Linked DNA regions of Homo sapiens: regions 2 and 3 are each linked to region 1. The links are contacts of gene promoters, found by promoter capture Hi-C in blood cells and fetal thymus (Javierre and others, 2016). All regions are on one chromosome and are shown on one strand. Each heading gives the region's core, a stretch centred on a gene start or on the middle of the fragment in contact. The rest is flanking DNA. Distances are from core to core; before and after follow the strand shown. Region 1 holds the start of ZNF689 (zinc finger protein 689). Region 2 holds the start of TBX6 (T-box transcription factor 6). Region 3 holds the start of TAOK2 (TAO kinase 2).

Region 1 (4,540 bases), core at 774-3,273:
TAACATGGTGAAACCCCGTCTCTACTAAAAATACAAAAAATTAGCTGGGCGTGGTGGCGGGCGCCTGTAGTCCCAGCTACCCGGGAGGCTGAGGCAGGAGAATGGCGTGAGCCCGGGAGGCGGAGCTTGCAGTGAGCCGAGATGGCGCCACTGCCCTCCAGCCTGGGTGACAGAGCGAGACTCCGTCTCAAAAAAAAAAAAAAAAAAAAAATGTGGAGGCTAATGGGGTGGGTGCTGGCTTGTTCCATCAGCAATTTTCAGTTCAGTGCCTTTCACATACATGCTTGTATCATTCTGTTATGATTCATTGTGAATTTATATGCTTTACTAGACTGTAAGCTCCATTCAAAGCATGGCCTATGACTTATTTATGTACGCTCTCCCAATTGCCTAGCACTATGCTTTGTACGTTGAACAAATGTCACGTGAAAATAATGTAGGGAGATTATGCAGAATATTGAACTTGAGAAGAAAACAAGAGCTCAGGTGGATTCCTGGTTTAGCAAGCAAATTAGGATACTGTGAAGGAAGGATGCCTATCAGTGGTATGAATAAAGGCTCTGTCTGCCCCAGGTTTAAATCTTTATTCCCCACTCCTTACTAGCAGTATGGCCCTGGAAACTCATGGAATCCCTCTGAGATCGTTTCTTCATTAGTAGAACCAGGATGATAACCATTGGTTCACAAAATGCTAGTAAAGAATTAATAACGGGCTGGGTGTGGTGGCTCACTCCTGTAATCCCAGCACTTTGGGAGACCGAGGTGGGCGGATTGCTTGAGCTCAGGAGTTCGAGACCAGCCTGGGAAACATGGCGAAACACCGTCTCTACCAAAAATACAAAAAATTAGCAGAGCACTGTGGGTGCATGCCTTCACTCCAGCCTGGGCAACGGAATGAGACCCAGTCTCAAAAAAAAAAAGCGAATAACTAATGGCTCCGGTGCTGTGGCTTATGCCAGTAATCCCAGCCCTTTGGGAGGACGAGGCAGGAGGATCACTTAGCCTAAGGGTTCGAGACCAGCCTGGGCAACACAGGGAAACCCTGACTCAACAAATAACATAAAAAATTAGCCAGGCGTGGTAGTGCACACCAGTAGTCCCAGTTACTCTGAAGGCTGAGGCAGGACGATTGCTTGAGCCCAGGAGTTAGAGGCTGCAGTGAGCTGAGATTGCACTACTGCATTCCATCCCGCCCGGGTAACAGAGTGAGACCCTGTCTCAAAAAAATAAAAATAAGGCCGGGCATAGTGGCTCACGCCTGTAATCCTAGCACTTCGTGGGGCCGAGGTGGGTGAATCACTTGAGGTCAGAAGTTCGAGACCAGCCTGGCTAACATGGTGAAACCCCATCTCTGCTAATAAATATGAATATTAGTCAGGAGTGGTGGCACGCGCCTGTAATCTCACTTACTCGGGAGGCTGAGGCAGGAGAATCGCTTGAACGTGGGAGGTGGAAGCTGCAGTGAGCCGAGATTTCGCCACTGCACTCCAGCCTGGGCGACAGAGCACGACTCTGTCTCAAAAATAAATAAATAAAATAAAAATAAAAAATAATAAAGATGAAATATGTAATATGCTGGGCATGGCGCCTGCCCCCAGGAAATGCTAACCATAATTCCCTCCCCTAAAGGGCAAACAAAGAAGATAACCATTCTCCAAAGTCAAGGATGCTCTGAGAACACCAGTAAAAGGAACTCAGGATAATCTCAGCTCTAACTCGGCCAGAGTGGCTCCATCGCTCAAATCGTTCCCTCCTTCAGTGATTGGCTGAGCCTGCCAGAGTCGAACAGCGGAAAGCAGCCCCGGGGCCTCTTGCTGCCCCCAGGTCGGTGCAAGTCGCTTCACAACTCCTTGTAGTCGCCTGATCCTAGCAGTCCAGCTTCCTGCCCTTATGCAGCTCTTGGCTTCGTTCAAACGGACCGCCTTTGCTAGCACCCAATCAGAACGCTCGATCTTCGGCTCTCGTCCAATGAACGCGCGTATTGGGGAGGGGAAAAAAGACGGCGTGAAGCCCAATCGCAGCGCCATTACACTTGAGGGCAAAGAGGTTAGGAAGCCGGCATGGCGCTCCGGTCAATAAAATCGATAGCTGGAAGCTGCCTGTGTTCCAGGCAAAGGCGGTGCGGTAGCAGCGCCGCCATTTTCCCCGAAGGCATCTTCCGGTGCCTTTCACCCAAGTTCGGGCAGGAGTTTCCTGAATAACAGCAAAAGGTTTCCGTTAGCCCCGCGGGCGACCAATTCCGATTCCCTCCGGGCCTCCCCGGCCACGCTCAGCCCTGGTCCGGCAGGGGCTCCTCGATCCCAGGGGCCGCCAGCGCCCGAGGGCCGAGGCCTGGACACGGAAGGCCGTGGCGCCGGCTTCTCGGGTCCCATGGCGCCACCTTCGGCTCCGCTCCCTGCGCAGGGACCAGGAAAGGCCAGACCCAGTCGGAAAAGGGGCAGGAGGCCGAGGGCTCTGAAGTTCGTGGACGTGGCCGTGTACTTCTCCCCGGAGGAGTGGGGCTGCCTGCGGCCCGCGCAGAGGGCCCTGTACCGGGACGTGATGCGGGAGACCTACGGTCACCTGGGCGCGCTCGGTGAGGCCGGCCCCATCCGCTGCCGCGGGGCGCGAAGGGATGCAGGAGCCGGAGAGGGTGTAGGCAGGGAGGCCACGGTCCTGGCAGGCGACCAGGTTGTCAGGGGAGGTGGGCAGGGGCTTAGCAGGAGGTGCCGTCGGGGAGATACTACTCGGCGTGATCTAGGAGCTGGCCTTCTGATTTGTTCTCTTTCCCCAGGGTGCGCAGGTCCCAAACCAGCCCTCATCTCCTGGTTGGAACGAAACACCGATGACTGGGAACCGGCTGCTCTAGATCCGCAGGAGTACCCGAGAGGGCTAACAGTCCAGAGAAGTGAGTGCTAAATAACCACGCAGAGCCTGCAGCCCTCCTATAACGTTCTACCTCTAACGGCTCTGTCCAGAGTTTTGGTTGGGCTAGGGGTGGGTGCCGCGTATTTAGTATATTCATCTTCCCAGCCTCTTGTGTCTGGTGGTGTGGGGCCGGTCCACCACACAGAGATTCCTATGTCAGTCTGCAAGCTGCAGTTTTCCACTGTGTGAATGAATCAGTGGGCTTATTCTTCGTCTTTTTTTTTTTTTTTTTTTTTTGTAGAAACATTGTCTTGCTCAGTTCGGTCTTGAACTTCTGGCCTCAAGCGATCCTCCTGCCTTGGCCTCCCAAAATGCAGGGGTTACTGGCGTGAGCCATTGCAGCCAGCCAGAATCAGTGAGCTTTTAACAGGTGCTACCCTCTGCCTCCTTTCCAGGATCTCTGCCTCTAGCCACCTTTGAGTTGGACCAAAGAGATCCTAAACTTCTCAGAGTTTTCTGGGTTTTGGTTGAAGGGAGCTCATGGGGAACAGCTGCCTGGGATGCAGGGGCCTCTTTCTGCTCTTACGGCAGGATGACCCTTATCAGCGAAGGACATACTGCAATCTCCTCAGAATCCAACAAGGCTCTGCTTAACCCCATTCAGGTAGAAGGGTCCCAGATCCACCCATAGTAGAAGATGGAGCTGTCTGGGCTGGAATTTCAGAGCCAGATTCTTCAAGACCAGGGATAGCTGTCCAAGATTCAGATCTGACCATGATATTTCCTTGCTTAAAACTTTTCAGTTAATTTTTGCCAAGGTTGTTAAATGGCCATTGGTTATATCTAAATCACTTGGGGAACTTGGTAAAAACGCAGGTTCCAGGACCCCATCCCAGAGCTATTCATTCACTCGTGTGAATGTTTAGGAACTTCCATTTTTTAAATAGCCTCAGCTGATTCAGATGTGCATCTAGGTTTGAAAACCGGCCGGCTGGTGGCTCATGCCTGTAATCCCAGCACTTTGGGAGGCCGAGGTGGGTAGATCACTTGAGGTCCGGAGTTCAAGACCAGCCTGACCAACATCGTGAAACCCCGTCTCTACTAAAAAAATACAAAAATTAGCCGGGCACTATGGTGGGCGCCTGTAATTCCAGCTACTCAGGAGGCTGAGGCAGGGAGAATTGCTTGATCCTGGGAGGTGGAAGTTACAGTGAGCCGAGATCATGCCAGTGTACTCCAGCCTGGGTGCCACAGTGAGACTCCATCTTGGGGGAAAAAAAAAAAGAAAAGAAAACCATTGGGTAAAATACAGTCCAAGGTCTTTAACAATGCTAACAGCAGTGGTTCTCAAAGCGTGGTCTCAGACCAGAAGCAGCATTATTTGGAAACTTGTTAGAAATGCACATTCTTGGACCCTACCCCAGACCTGCTGAATCCAAAGCGGGCACTAGGGCCTGGCATTCTGTTTCAGTAAATCCTCCCAATGATTCTGATCACAGTGGAGTTTGAGAACCATTGGCTTAGAGGGCCTTTTGACCCAGTCACTGCTAGCTCATACCTCATAGGTTTCCATATCTTGCCTTACACTCTTTTGTGTGTGTGTGAGACGGAGTCTTGCTCTGTTGCCCAGGCAGGAGTGCAGTGGCACGATCTCAGCTCACTGTAACCTCTTGCTCCCGGTTTCAAGCAATTC
Region 2 (4,494 bases), core at 1,069-3,568, 520 kb after region 1:
CACCAGCCTCCCTTTCCATAGTCCTCATTGCCACTGCTGCTGTCCAGGGTCTGATTTCACTACCCTGAGTCTCATTTCCTTATCTCTCAGTGGAAGATAAAGCCACTGCCTAGCACCCAGGATTGTTACAGGGATCAGATTAGATGCTCAGGAAGATGCTCTTGGGACACTGCAAGGGACAGGATTCTTCAGGCGTCGCTTGGAACTGTGGTGCCTCTGTGAGGTGGATGTCCCAGGCAGAGCCAGCCAGCCAGCCCTGACCTGAGCTCGCTGCTGACCCTGCCACAGATTGGCTGTGTGTCTCTGGACAGGTGGCTTGGCCACTCTGGACCTCTACCAAATAAAGAGCTGGCCGGCCAGGCACAGTGGCTCACACCTGTAATCCCAGCACTTTGGGAGGCCGAGGCGGGTGGATCACAAGGTCAGGAGATTGAGACCATCCTGGCTAACACGGTGAAACCCCATCTCTACCAAAAATACAAAAAAAAAAAAAAAAAATCAGCTGGGTGTGGTGGCGGGCGCCTCTAGTCCCAGCTACTCATGAGGTTGAGGCAGGAGAATTGCGTGAACCCAGGAGGCAGAGCCTTGCAGTGAGCGGAGACAGAGCGAGACTCCGTTTCAAAAATAATAATAATTAATAAAGAGCTGGCCTAAACAAGAGGTCAAAAACTCAAGTGCCAGGCTGGGTGTGGTGGCTCACGCCTGTAATCCCAGCACTTTTGGGAGTCTGAGGCAGGTGGATCACCTGAGGTCAGGAGTTCGAGAACAGCCTGACTAACATGGTGAAACCCCATCTCTACTAAAAATACAAAAATTAGCTCGGCGTGGTGGTGGGCGCCTGTAATCCCAGCTACTCGGGGCCAAGGCAGCAGAATCACTTGAACCCGGGAAGCGGAGGTTGCAGTGAGCCGATATCGCGCCGTTGCACTTCCAGCCTGGGCGACAGAGCAAGACTCCCTCTCAAAACCAAACAAACAAAAAAACCTCAAGTGCCTGCAAGGCCAAGCAGATACTGTAGATGTGTAAAGGGTAGCATAGATTGGCAGGGTTGGGAGTTGGGGGCAGGCTGGGCAAACTGGAGTGAGCAAGGCCTACTTATATTTTAATACTTTAAAGTTATTTTTATTAAACTGTCTGCTGTCCAAACATAATACATGTTGTAGGCCAAAATGGCCATGAAGCTACCAGTTTGCAAACCCTGAACTGTGAAATCTTTTAGCCACTTCCCTATCTTCTCTGTTGGAGCCATCATTAGTACTTAAAAAAGTACCTTTGAGTCAGGGAGTTCTATTCTACTCTGTGTTTGTGAGAAATACGGCCCTGCCCCTCTGGGCCACAGTTTCCTCATATGTAAAATGGGGCCACTCATGTCCACTTCCCAACCCCAGTGCCTTGTGGTGAGACTGTTGCTCCGGGGATGACGGTCCCGCCCCTCCTTTCAGGAACAGGCCTTTGAGAGCAGCCAGAAGTACAAAGAGGGGAAGTACATCATTGAACTCAACCACATGATCAAAGACAACGGCTGGGACTGACCCCCGCTCCCCCGACGCATGTGGCTCCAGCCCGGCCTGGCCGCCAGGGAGCGCCACTGGCTTCCCGCCACCCGAAGGGAGCTCTGGACCCTCAGAGCCCCTGCAGAGGACGGATCTAGCTCCTGTATATATATTTTATTGCATGCACTGTGACCTTGGGGGGAGAACAGAAGGGGGACGACGCCCCCGCACCTCCTGCGATCTGGCTGGCTTGGATCTCGTTTTTAACCCGTTCCTGCCCCACCTGCCCTATAGTTATGGCCTGTGTTCTGCTCTCCTGGTCCCAGTGCACCGTCTGCTCTGTGAACTCCTCCCACCAGGCCCTTCTTACCCCACGCGTGTCTGTCCCCCTCGTTCTGTAGCGTTTGTACATAATAAAACAATGGAGTGGAGACAGCTCAGGCTCGCGTGTAATCCGGGAAGGGGGAGCTCAAGCGGAGATTTCCGCCCCTATAGACCTGTGCGGTTCTGAGCCCCGGCGGGGCATGGGGTAGGCACAGCCGTCCAAGCTGGGTCTCCGGGAACCGGGACGGTTTCACTGCTGGCGGAGGTCCTGAGCCCACTCTGGCTGCCTACGCCGTGACCTCGGCTGATCTGCGTCTGCTCATCTGCAGCGTTTGGCCGCCGCCTAGGGGCAGCGTCCCAGGGAGGCAACCGCGCCGCCGGCCTCGCAGCCCCCTCGCGGTCGGACTGCAACTCCCAGCGGCCCCCGCGTGGTCCGTCCGGCTCCTTCGGGCGCGCCTCAGCGCTGAGCCTGCCGGGAAGTGTAGTTCCGAGGGTTCCCCAGCGCGGGACCTTCGGGAAACCCTGGCGCGAGGCGTCAGAAGCTGTCGGACTGTGAGCGCCTTCGAACTTTGGAGGCTTGGCTCGGGATGGAGGTTTTTTTAGCATGGGGACCAGGGAGGACTACGGTGCTCGGGACTGGGCTGCGGCCTCCTCGCGGCCCCGAGTGCCCTGTGAAATCAGCTCAGGCCGCGTCCCTCTAGCCTGCACTTTCCCTCTGTTCACGCTGCTTCCCTCCAGGGCCCGGCCTCCAAGTGAAGGGGGGCGGAGGGCGGTCACCTGCCAGAAGGTCTGGGGCGCCAAGGTGTGTCCCGGGACTCTTGGCTCCGTCCAGGTTCCAGGCCCCGCCCCCCAGCTTATCCCTAGCCGGGGCTCCCCACCGTGGGAACGGGGACCAGCTGGCCGGAAGCGCCAAACTGCGTCCCTGTCCGAGCCCTGGGGATCAATCAAGCCGAGGAGTTAATTATGTAATGAGGGGGCAGGGGGTCGAGGCTAATGAAGCCTCCCGGGGTGGGGAGGGAGGGGAGGAGGGGACCGTACCCAGGTATCCGACCCCCTCTCGGACCCCTTCGAGGCCCCAGGGGTCTCCACCCCAGCCCAACTCCAGGGCCCCAAAGAGGGGAGGGGCTGTGATCCTGGATCTGGAAGGGGCTGAGCTGTGAGCTATAAAGGGGGCATCTCGCAGCACCGGGGGCCCTAAGCAGCGAGACCTGAGGCCAGACGGAACTACAACATGTACCATCCACGAGAATTGTACCCGTCCCTGGGGGCCGGCTACCGCCTGGGGCCCGCCCAACCTGGGGCCGACTCCAGCTTCCCACCCGCCCTAGCGGAGGGCTACCGCTACCCCGGTGAGCGTTGGGACCAGCTCCTGGGTAGGAGAATAGGGGGGCTGTGGCCCTCGGCTGGCTCCTCATTCTTCCCCGGCTTCCAGAACTGGACACCCCTAAACTGGATTGCTTCCTCTCCGGGATGGAGGCTGCTCCCCGCACCCTGGCCGCGCACCCACCTCTGCCCCTTCTGCCCCCTGCCATGGGCACTGAGCCGGCCCCATCAGCTCCAGAGGCCCTCCATTCCCTCCCGGGGGTCAGCCTGAGCCTGGAGAACCGGGAGCTATGGAAGGAGTTCAGCTCTGTGGGAACAGAAATGATCATCACCAAAGCTGGGAGGTGAGGGGCTGGCCAGGGTCCGTGTTTCTGGTGGGGGTCTCTTGGGAAAGGCAGAGTCCCTGGGGAGGGGGCTAGGACTGGGTGGTTCCCGAGGGGCTAGAGCTCTGCCTAGGCCTAGAATCTGACTATGGCCTGGGGCAAGGGTTACTCTGTGGCAGGAATCAGGAGTCACTCTGTGACAAGGGTTAAGGGCCAGTCTGTGGAGTCTGTGGCTGAGTTTAGGGACCAATCTATGGCAAGGGTCATGGGTCAGTCTGGGGCAGGGTCAGGAAGTCCCTCTGGGTTATAGGTTAGTGTGTGGCTTAGACCAGCATCCAGACAAGGACAGGGGGTCAAGGGCCAGCCCATTGACCAGCATCAGGGAAATCTGGCCAGGATTCGGGATCAGTATGCAACTCGAATAGGAGTCAGTATATGACTAGGTCCAGGGTCACCCTAGAGGCAGGGACACGGTCAGTGTTTGACCTTAGATGAGGTCTTTAGCTGGGGCAGGAACTCAAGCCCTAGCATGGAAAGTCCTCGGCCCTACTGCAGGCAGGGTATATTTTTTCTAAAGCAAATTCATCTAAGAGCTGCAGATTCTGGTGCTGGAGATCAGGGGAGGAGAGGAGGGTGGGGACAGGAAGCTCCTAGCAAGAAAGTTAGTCACCCCTGCTTCTGCAAATAGGCTTTGAGGGGTAGGAGTCATGGCTCTGTTCCTAACCTGCTGTGTGACAGATCACTTAACCCGTCTGTCCTGTTTCCCCAAATGTAAAATGAGACAAGAAAACCTTCCAGCTCTAAGATTCCGCCCTCTGGCTTCTTTTTTTTTTTTTTTTTTTTTTTGAGATGGAGTCTCGCTCTGTTGCCCAGGCTAGAGTGTAGTGGCACGATCTCGTCAGCTCACCGCAACCTCTGCTTCCTGGATTCAAGCGATTCTCCTGCCTCAGCCTCCCGAGTAGCTGGGACTATAGGCACACACCACCACACCCGGCTAATTTTTGTAGTTTTAGTAGAGACGGTGTTTCACC
Region 3 (4,104 bases), core at 596-3,095, 630 kb after region 1:
GAAGCTAAGTATCCTCACCACCCCCTTCAGTGCTCAACAAGTTCTCATTTCCCTATAGCCCCTGTATCTCCCCTCAAGGATAAAACATTCTGCTTCCCAGCCAGCACTCCAGAGCCCCAAGTGTCCTGTCCCATAAGTCCTATACCCCAACTGTTTCCAGGCACCTTTCTGTTCCCCTTGGCGCTGAGGCCCCCTCCTCCCTCAACCTCTCACACCCTGGAAGAGAACAGGAAATGGCCAGGCCGGAGGCGGTGGAAATCCGTCCATTGTTAGAAGTGGGTACTGGCCCAGAGGAGCCCGCAAAGTCACTCTCAAAAAAGTCAGGGGGAGATCTAGAATGGGAAGAATAGGGATATAAATGGCATCTGGCTATGAGGGCCTCTCTGTGCTCTGGGCCACCTTACTTGTCCTGTCCAACTGCATAAGCATCACACACAGGTACAGGACATTTGCAGGGTACAAATAACATTTACTGAGTACCTTACGTGCATTATCTCTATTCAGTCCTCACTACAACCTTATGAAGCAAGTACTATGATTTCCCCTATCTTACAGATAAAGAAACAGGCTCAGCAAGGTTAAGTGCCTTGTCCAAAGCTGGTCCTCCATCACTATGATTTCAGAGCAGCCCTTCGAAACAGGCAGGGCAGAATCATGATCACCATTTCCTAGGTGAGGTCACTGAGGCACAGAGAAGAAAAAGGACTTCTCCAAGGTCAGAGAACAGGACCTTCGGCTCCCCGGTTAGGCCTGTATCCATTACTCTCTCAGCTGTCACCCCAAGCTCAGCTCCCCTCTTGCAGGAAGCCTGTCCTGACCACTCCAGCCATTGGGAAGAGCACCTAGGGCACCCAACCAAACACCCGGAGAAAGTTCCTGCAGGATACCAGAACCAAAACCCTCAAGGAGATTCCAAGACAGGCTCCAGCCTAAGCACTTGTCAGAATTTAGGCACAAAGGAGCCTTCAGCAGAGCTGGACTCCTGGGGCAGAGTTCTAGCTACTCAAAAGCACCTAACAATTTTAGCATGTAATTTATTCTGTCATGCATTGTTTCCTGTTGTGTTGTTAATTTTGTCTCAGCCCAACTGGAAGCTGGAGGGCAAGGAGGGAGCCTGACTCTCCAGTGGGCCCCCAGGGTGCAGAGGGCTCAGAATAGCCTGGGAGACTGAGTGATTGCTCTCTGCTCAGCCCTCAGCAGCTCGCAGGTTGCTCAAAGCCGGCCCTTTTCTCCCTTCTGCCAGCAACAGTGCCAAGCACCCCTCACCAGCACCACACACCCACACACAAAGGCAGGTGCTCTCAACTTGCCAAAGGAATCTTCCTGACCTCTTTACCAACACAAGGCCCCAGAATGCTAACCTAGGCCACACGGAGGGGTGCCACCCACTGGCAAAACATCATGCAGGTCCCCTTCCCCATAATAACAACAAACACTTGAACAATAACCAAGGTCTGTGCTAAATCATAACCACCTTCCAAAACGAACAATGTTATCTCCATTCTACAGATGAGGAAACCCGTATCTATCTGTTCCTAAGCTATGCTACCAGTACATCCCGTCTGCAATGTACAGCAACAGGGCTTTAAATAAGTTCCTTCCAGTTCTTGGTCTTCTCTTCAGTGAAATGGATTACAGCATGGAGCTGTTGTTAAGATTTTAATGAGATCTCATACTTAGGAACACCATGCAGACACTCAGCATATGGATTTTTCCTTCCCTGCCTCCAAGGTCCCCACAAAGCTTTAATCCTTTGGGGGATCATTCTACCCCAACAGCTTGGCTTGAACAGTTAAAAGATGCCACTAGTGCTACCATTTGTCAGGAGAGAGCCCTCTCAGGAATCCAGGCCAAACCCTGGGATTGGGGTAAAGATGAAGGTCACAGTGGATAGAAAACTCCATGAGGCAGAGGCAAAAGCCAGAGGCTCCCATCAGGAAAAGCTTCTGAGTAGAGCCCTCCTGGAAAGGAAGCTCATCTCATCCCCATTCTTAAACCTCACCCCAGCCTGGACTCCTAGGGACCCCTGGCCGAGCCCAAACTCAGAGGAAAAGAGATGGCAAGAACCAGGCATGCATCAGGGAAAGATGTGATTGAGGACTTGAGTTCAAATTCTGGTTCTGCCACTGTGTGACCTTGGGCAACCTCTCTCGGCCTCAACGTTCTCAACTGTAAAATGGGAAGATGCCAATAAAAGAGGCCCCCACAGGGTGAATGCGGGGATGTCACATGAGAGAATGGCTGTCAAAGCACTTTGTAAAAGACAGATCGTTTGACAAATGGATGAGATTATTGACACCATCACAGCAAGAGGTTGGAAGGTAACTGCAGCTGGGGGAAAACATTGCCAGGCACCTCCAAGCACACACACACACGCATACACACAAACACATATACACACACTTCCTTGCAAGGACAAGAAATCCAACCAGACCAGGCCTGAAAAGCAGATAAGCAGACCCACCATGGGAATCAGAGGCATGGGAATCAAAACCACAGAATAGCCAGGAGAACGGGACATATCAGGGAGGAGAGGTGGCTGTGAGGGGCAAAGTGAAGGAGAGAAGACTGAAGTGCAAATCCATCTGATTAGCTGAAGCACCCTAGGGTGTGAACGCCGGTGACATCAGAGACCCTGTCACCTGAGGTCCCCCACCAACCAGACACAATGAAGGGAAGAGGAAGGGGAAGGGGGTGGCAACAGAAGGCAAGGCTAGCCAGAGGCTGACCACTCGCTCAGCTGGGCTTCCCCATCCTGAGAGGGCCTACCCAAGTCCAGCTTCTCAGAAAGGCGCACCCTTTCTTCTCAGAACTAGACACAGGGACCCGCGCCCCTGCACCCCGTGTCTCACCTGGTAGGGGTCACTATGGTGCCCCAGCGCCTCCGCTTCCGCCTGGGGTCCTCCAGCGGCTCTGCCAAGCAGGGAGAGGGGCAAGGAGACCTTTCCCCTTGCCACCTCTTCCTCGGCTTTCGCCCTTCCTGAGGGGCGGGCCCGGGAAGCCTCCCCTGGAGGGGAGGGGGTGACAACCTAATCTGACCTCGCGGTCCAGTCCTCCCCCTCGTCGAGGGCGACAGCTGCCGAATTCCGGATTTCTGATTGTGGGGTCTGAACCCCGAATATCTGAACGGGATGGAGACTGAATCCGATATTTGAACGCCCGGGGAATGAACCCCGGATACTGGTGCACGCAGGGGCCTGAACCTGATATTTGAAATTCTATGAAACAGAGACCCAGGTTTAGAGAGGTTGGGACCCGAGTCCCGGATATCTGGACTATGAGGACTGTTACCCGGGTATCTGAGAAAGGAGGAGGGGCAAAGCCTGGAAATTTGGGACCCAGGGGCCTGAGCTGTAGGTCTTCGGCCACCGACTGGGGGCCCACCCCGAGGACGTCCGGCCGCACGGCCCCTCTCACGCCGGGGTCCGAGGGTGACAGCCCCCACTCCCGCCCCGGCCTCCTCCCTCTCCCTTCTCTCTTCCGAGAATAGCTGAACGATTGTAGCTAAGGTGCTGCTGACGGTCCCCGCGCCCTCTCTGCCTCTCCTCTTCTCCGTCTCAGCCTCTCTCCGCACCACAGCCCCGGTCTCGTCCCGGTCTCCCTCTCCCTCTTCCTCCCAATTCCAAGATGGAGACCGGGCGGGAGCGCGCAGGCGCGGTAGGGACGCCGGGCTAAAGGGGGCGGGGGCGCAGAGGACTCAGCCCCGCCCTCTCTCCTCACTGCCGCGGCCTGGGAGACCGGCAGCCGCCAAGCCCGAGTGCGCGCCCGCCCCGCCACGCGGACCCCAGGCCGGAGGAGGCGGGGAGAAGAGCTAGACTTGCAAGGGGAGGAGCCCGGCACTCTGTCCCACGACTGGCGGTGGACAGAGCTGCAGCGCATGCGCTCGCCCCGCCTTCGCTCTGAGCCCGAGCTTGTTGCTAGGGGAAGCTTTGAGGGGGCGCGGGTGGACGGACAGCAGCGGCGATCTGCGACTGCGCGCAGGGTGGAAGTTGGGAGGGGCAAAGGAAGCTGCTGCTGGGCGCGGAAAAGGCGGGAAAATAGACTGCTCCGAGGTTAGCAACCATCTAACCTGGAAAAGGGCCTCCAAGTGCGAGGAATCTTTGC

Evidence for each region. Contacts are between HindIII fragments. The CHiCAGO score rates a contact against its expected background, and 5 or more counts as called.
Region 2: the fragment with the promoter of TBX6 here is called in contact with the fragment with the promoter of ZNF689 in region 1 in 3 of 17 cell types (naive CD8 T cells, fetal thymus and erythroblasts); the score reaches 5.5 in naive CD8 T cells.
Region 3: a contact is called between a fragment that was not itself captured here and the fragment with the promoter of ZNF689 in region 1, in 2 of 17 cell types (naive CD8 T cells and total B cells). The highest score is 5.4, in naive CD8 T cells.

Annotation. Positions count from the first base shown.
Region 1 is chr16:30,607,872-30,612,411 of GRCh38, reverse strand. ZNF689 (zinc finger protein 689) reads left to right here and starts at 2,023. Exons shown (of 3, transcript NM_138447.3): 1 at 2,023-2,575; 2 at 2,774-2,887. The coding sequence starts at 2,371. It overlaps LOC124903678 (a long non-coding RNA gene), which reads right to left and starts at 1,938. Exons shown (of 2, transcript XR_007065051.1): 1 at 1,649-1,938. RefSeq lists an enhancer at 1,027-1,996 and a silencer at 2,284-2,333. The HindIII fragment of the contact is 6,999 bases long and covers 1-4,540 here.
Region 2 is chr16:30,089,748-30,094,241 of GRCh38, reverse strand. TBX6 (T-box transcription factor 6) reads left to right here and starts at 2,318. Exons shown (of 9, transcript NM_004608.4): 1 at 2,318-2,369; 2 at 3,001-3,166; 3 at 3,250-3,484. The coding sequence starts at 3,049. It overlaps YPEL3 (yippee like 3), which reads left to right. Exons shown (of 4, transcript NM_031477.5): 4 at 1,443-1,928. The coding sequence ends at 1,532. RefSeq lists enhancers at 1,659-1,848, 2,981-3,854 and a silencer at 2,069-2,328. The HindIII fragment of the contact is 24,011 bases long and covers 1-4,494 here.
Region 3 is chr16:29,973,397-29,977,500 of GRCh38, reverse strand. It overlaps TAOK2 (TAO kinase 2), which reads right to left and starts at 3,633. Exons shown (of 16, transcript NM_016151.4): 1 at 2,853-3,633. It overlaps LOC124903762, which reads right to left and starts at 3,879. Exons shown (of 2, transcript XM_047435036.1): 1 at 3,721-3,879; 2 at 2,866-3,504. The coding sequence starts at 3,879. The coding sequence ends at 2,866. RefSeq lists enhancers at 740-1,239, 1,240-1,741, 2,543-2,672, 2,379-3,150 and a silencer at 3,574-3,943. The HindIII fragment of the contact is 200 bases long and covers 1,746-1,945 here.